2 separate regions of the Homo sapiens genome follow, and region 2 is linked to region 1. The links are contacts of gene promoters, found by promoter capture Hi-C in blood cells and fetal thymus (Javierre and others, 2016). All regions are on one chromosome and are shown on one strand. Each heading gives the region's core, a stretch centred on a gene start or on the middle of the fragment in contact. The rest is flanking DNA. Distances are from core to core; before and after follow the strand shown.

What was found. Contacts are between HindIII fragments. The CHiCAGO score rates a contact against its expected background, and 5 or more counts as called.
Region 2: a contact is called between a fragment that was not itself captured here and the fragment with the promoter of KCNQ1OT1 in region 1, in 3 of 17 cell types (M1 macrophages, M2 macrophages and erythroblasts). The highest score is 6.1, in M1 macrophages.

Annotation. Positions count from the first base shown.
Region 1 is chr11:2,698,412-2,701,256 of GRCh38, forward strand. KCNQ1OT1 (KCNQ1 opposite strand/antisense transcript 1) reads right to left here and starts at 1,583. Exons shown (of 1, transcript NR_002728.4): 1 at 1-1,583. All of the region lies in intron 11 of KCNQ1 (potassium voltage-gated channel subfamily Q member 1), which reads left to right. RefSeq lists silencers at 1,717-1,986, 1,997-2,066 and an enhancer at 1,784-2,845. The HindIII fragment of the contact is 24,274 bases long and covers 1-2,845 here.
Region 2 is chr11:2,872,375-2,875,313 of GRCh38, forward strand. No RefSeq gene overlaps it. Among named protein-coding and RNA genes, the nearest start is that of KCNQ1DN, 3.8 kb to the left of the region's middle. The HindIII fragment of the contact is 1,104 bases long and covers 1,085-2,188 here.

The sequences.
Region 1 (2,845 bases), core at 333-2,832:
GGTGGCCCTTCAAGCCTACTACCCAGACTGAGACCTGCATCTGATCAACTCTCATCTCCAATATGACCAAGAGACTTCTACCACTACCTCTCACCTGGCAGGTGATCACCACCCCCAACTCAGACTGCAACCTTTACTTCGCCCCCTAATTCCTGACTCAGAATCCCCACCTAGAGGCAGAACTTCGACTTCAATTCCTGACTCCCATACCCCACTGAGACCTCTAACCCCAATCCCAATCTCTTAACTCAGAGCCCCCCATTCAGAACCTCTACCCAAAGACAGACTCCAGACCCTGACTCCAGTCGCCAACTCGGACCTCCCTTGGATCTCAACTCAGAGCCATGATGCAGACTCCAGACCGGGATTCAGGTCCCCAACTCAGACTCCCGATCCTCTGTCCCTAATGAGGCCCTACCTAAAACCACCATGCGGACTCCAGACCCGGACTGACTGGGACCCCAACTACTCAGATCCCAACTCAGGCAAACTCCCAGCCAGGATGTGGACCCTAGACCCGAATTCTGATCCCAACTAGGATACCTAACTCAGAACCACAACGGGGATTCCCACCTCCGATCCTAATTCGGGCCCTGACTCAGAACCACTAAGTGGATTTCCGACTCCGGTCCCAATTCGGGCTTTGACTCAAAACCACAACATGGATTCCCAACTTCCATCCCAATAGCGCGGACTCAGAACCACGATGCGGATTCCAGACTCCAATCCCAATTCAGCCCACTCTGAACCACCATGAGAACTATAGACCCGGAATCCGATCCTTGGGACGCGGCCAGGAACTCGGACCTCGACCCTGGCCACGCTGTCCATAAGGTGCAGATGGGAGCGCACTGCCCAGGCCAGGCTGCACTGCTGACGCCTGTGATCTGGGACGGCCGCGGGGCACACAGCTCACCTCAGCAACGCCAGTGATCACCCGTCCCGCGCCGTCCGCCCAGGTCCGTGCTGACCGTGTTCAAACCCTCCCAGAGAGATGGGGAGGGCCGCGCTGAGGAGAGTCTGGGAGAACCGCACTGAGGAGCCGCCGGGAGAGTGCCGCGCTGAGGAGCCCCCGGGGAGAGTGCCGCGCTGAGGAGCCCCCAGGAGAGTGCCGCGCTGAGGAGGCCCAGGGAGGACCGCGCGGAGGAGAACCATGCTGAGGAGCCCCCGGGGAGAACAGAACCGCGGCGAGAGGCCCCCGGAGAGAACCGCGCCGAAGAACCCCCGGGGACAACCGCGCCGAAGAACCCCCGGGGAGAACCGCGCCGAAAAGCCCCGGGTGCCCCGAGGAGAACGGCGCCGAGGAGTCCCCGGGGAGAACTGCGCCGAGGAGCCCCCAGAAGAGCGCCGCGCTGAGGAGCCCCGAGGAGAACCGCGCCGAGGGGCGCGCCGGGGAGAACCACGATGACTGACGCACCGAGGAGGACCGCGCTGAGGGGCGCACCGGGAGAATCGTGCTGAGGAGCCCCGGGGAGGACCACGCTGAGAGGCACCCCGGCAGAATCGCGCTGAGGGGCGCCCTGGCAGGATCTTGCTGAGGAGCTCCCTGGAGGTCCGTGCTGAGGCGACGCGGCGACCGTTCTGCCTGGAGACTGCGGCAGCGCTCCGACTGCCCCCGCCGCTGCCGACGTGGCGACCGCCCCCCACCTGCTGATTGGGCGGCAGCAGGGGAAGGCTTGCGGCGGGCTGCTGCACGGATTGGCTGGGTGCGGAAAGTGATGTGCCGTGTCCTGTCATTGGCCGAAAGAGTCTCGTTTTGATGCCACCCGGGCTCAGATTGGCCCAGCGGGTCCAGCGCCGCATGAGGCACTGGCTGGGTGTGAGGTGGCGCGAGCCGCCGCCCTCCCTGCCCCCACCCGTCGTCCCTGAGCACCACCGGGGGCCGGGGCCAGCGCCAGCCTCAGCGTTGGCATCGCCGGGGTGAGCTGGAGACACGGGCCAGTTCTCTGCGTGATGTGTTCACCACCCCGGGGTGACCGCGTGAGGACAGCGGCCGCACCCCGACACTGCTGTGGGCCCTCGGTGTGGAGGCCTGTGGGCGTCCAGGCCACGCCCGAGACCAGCCCCTCCGCCGGCGCCGCTGCAGCGACCCTCGAACCCGGGCAAGGTCTCCACCGCCGTGGCACCGGGTGCGGGAGGCGTTTTCCCCCCTCCCAGCGGGTCCATGCAGGGGATCGGGATGTTCTGAAGCCCCCACTGCTGTGCCTGGAACACCCGTGTCTGCCGCTCACCCCTGAGGACTTGGGACCTCAGGGGGTGAGTGGCAGGGGTGGCCGGGACATGCCAGGCCACCCACCTGGCAAAGGGCAGCGCCGAGGGCGCCCCGCGCCTGCCAGCGCCCGGCCGGGCCCGCCCTGCCCACCTCCCATCCCCCATCCGGGCGTGACACTTGACCGCGTCTGCCGGCCCCTCCCCTTGTCCGTCCCCTCCGCGCCGCTGGCGCGCGCCTTCTGAATGCCAAGCATTGCCATAAACTCCGGGGACAAAAGCCTGGGTCACAAAAGCCCCCTCTAGAAGTTCACACCCTGAGGCTTCCCTGGCAAGGCTGGGGGCCGTTTGGCCCTTCCATGTGGACTGCAAAAACAGTGTTGGAATGCAGGACTCTGGGTATGTTCTCGAAAGTTGTTACAACCCCAACCCAGGGTTGACCTCAAACACAGGAGGAAGGGGGAGGCTGGAGCCAGCCAAGCGAGCCAGCCGTCCCCCCACCAAGGCACGCAAGGAGGCCATTCATCTTCACTGCCTCTGCCGAAAATATACGTCTACGGGAGAGCCAGGAATCTCTCTCCAAGGGTGACCGGGTTGGGGGTTTTGTTGTTCTTCAGCCCAGAAGAGAAAGAGAAAA
Region 2 (2,939 bases), core at 387-2,886, 170 kb after region 1:
CAGAGTGCAATGGTGTGGTCTGGGCTCACTGCAACCTCTGCCCCCCGGGTTCAAGCGATTCTCCTGCCTCAGCCTCCCTCTCGAGTAGCTGGGATTACAGGCGCCCACCACCACACTCAGCTAATTTTTTTTTTTTTTTTTTTTGTAATTTTAGTAGAGACAGGGTTTTGCCATGGTGGCCAGGCTGGTCTCGAACTCTTGACCTCAGGTGATCTGCCCGCCTGAGCCACCCAAAGTACTGGGATTACAGGCATGATCCACCACGCATGGCCAGTTTTGCCTTAAAACCACAGCTAGACTCCTCCACAGGGACCAGGACCTAGGCCATGTCTGTCCTGGCTGCAGAGGTGGGTCAGCCCCATACAGTGCTCTCTGGAAGAGAAACAGGGAGCAGCGTGGCTCCTGCACAGAGGCACCTGGCTGGCCCTTGGCCTACTGGTAGCCTCCAAGGGTAGATGCCAGGTATCTCAGTCCATTTGTGCCACAGTAACAAAATACCTGAGACTGGGTGATTTATTTTCTATTTTTTATTTATTTATTTATTTATTTATTTTTGAGATGGGGTTTTGCTCTTGCTGCCCAGATTGGAGTGTGATGGCACGATCTTGGCTCACTGCAACCTCTGCCTCCCAGGTTCAAGCGATTCTCCTGCCTCAGCCTCCTGACTAGCTGGGATTACAGGCATGTGCCACCACACCCGGCTAATTTTGTATTTTTAGTAGAGATGAGGTTTCTCCATGTTTGTCAGGCTGGTCTCGAACTCCTGACCTCAGGTAATCCACCCACCTTGGCTTCCCAAAGTGCTGGGATTACAGGTGTGAGCCACTGCGCCTGGCTAATTTTCTAGGTTTAGTAGAGATGGGGTTTCTCCATGTTGGTCAGGCTGGTCTTGAACTCCTGACCTCAGGTGATCCACGAGACTGGGTGATTTATAAATAACAGAAATGTATTTCTCACCGTTCTGGAGGCTGGGAAGTCCAAGATCAAGGTGCCAGTGCAATCAGGGTCTGGTGAGGGCTCTCTGCTTCCAAGATGGCACTGTGTTGTAAGTGAAGCGAACGCTTTGGGAAGCCTCTTTTATAAAAGCTTTAATCTCACTCAGAGGGAGGAACCCTCAGGCTTAAATACCTCCTAAAGGCCCTATTTCTTTCTCTCTTCTTTTTTTTTTTTTTTTTTTTTTTGTGAGACACAGTCTTGCTCTGTTGCCCAGGCTGGAATACAGTCGTACCATCTCAGCTCACTGCAACCTCCACCTCCTGGGTTCAAGCAGTTCTCCCTGCCTCAGACTTCCAAGTACCTAGGTAACAGGTGCCCACCACCATGCCCAGTTAATTTTTGTATTTTTAGTAGAGATGGGGTTTCACCATGTTGGCCAGGCTGGTCTCAAACTCCTGACGTCAGGTGATCTGCCCACTTCGACCTCCCAAAGTGCTAGGATTACAGGCGTGAGCCACTGTGCCTGGCCCTTTTTTTTTTTTTTTTTTTTTTTTTTTGACAGGATCTGGCTCTCTGGCTCTGTCAACCAGGCTGTGGTACAGTGGCACGGTCATGGCTCACTGCAACCTCCACCTCCCAGGCTTGAGTGATCCTCCCATCTCAGCCTCCTGACTAGCACGCATCACCACACCTGGCTAATATTTCTTTTTTTGTAGAGAAAAGTTCTCCCTACATTGCCCAGGCTGGTCTGAAAATCCTGGGCTCAAGCAATCCACTCACCTCAGCCTCCCAAAGTGCTGAGATCACAGGCTTGAGCTACTGCGCCCAGCTTCCCACTTACATTAATACTATCACATTGGCCAGTAAGTTTCAGACACGAATTCTGGAGGGGACATAGTCAAACCCAGCACCAGGTCTCAGGTGTCCTTACTTCTCCCTCTGCAATTCCGGCTTCACCACAGCCCTCAGGTGTAAGGCCTTGTTGTCCAGACCATGTGCTTTTTCCCAGGACTGAGAGTGAAGTGCTGAGGTTGCATGATAAAAACCCATGTGACTATATGACCATTAAAGTGAATAGCCCCCAGAGCACTGGGCGGTGGGGACCGGGGCTCCCTCCTACACAGACAGACCAATTAAGGTCTTCCAGGCCTGCATGTAGGCCAGGCTACAGGGATGGAATCAGCACCCAGCTAGAGCAGAAGGGTCTAAAGGAACCAAAAGGGGTTCTGGGACAAATCTCAAACCATGGGCAAGCTTCGCTCAAGCACTCAAGGAACATTCGAGCTAGATGGGCCCTCAGAGACTCTGATCCTATGTTCTCCTTTCAGTGAGGGAAAATTGAGGCCCAGGGAGGCTTCTGCACCCTAGACAGGCCCCACTCCTTAGAGGGACCAGTGAGGGGAAGTCAGACCCCAGCAAGACGGAGGAAGTCCCAAATTGGAGACAATCAGAAAGACAACACCAGTGCAGACCCTAAACCAACACCCCACCTGCTCCAAGCTGGGCTCCAGTCGCCTAAGGATGAGCTGGGCCCATGCAAACTCCCTGTGTGTTTCCTGCATGTGGGCCACCAGGCAACCACCCTCTAACTTGAACCCCTGCCCACAGACCCCAGTACCACCCAATGGTTGGCCAGGGGCACCCCCAAAGGATTGGATCATGCCGAAGGTAGCCACAGGCAGATGACAGTGTCAAAGGGAAGGGGGATAAGTGGTTTTTGTTCACGCAGACCATAGGAGTGAAGGTTGTAGCATTCCCAAATGTAAGTCCGCGTGGCTAAGACCACGGGCAGGGCTCCCCAGCTGGCCTGGCTCCCAGTGTCTGTGCATTATCGTGTGCGTGTGAGGCATTTCCACTTGGATTACTATTTCAGCTCCCAAAAATGGATCAGTGGCTCACAGGAGGATCCAGGAAGCAGCAAATATTGACCCGTCAGGATTTCAAGGTGAACGTGGGATGTCCCCTACATGCAGGGACCGTCCACCAAGTGTGACACTGGACAC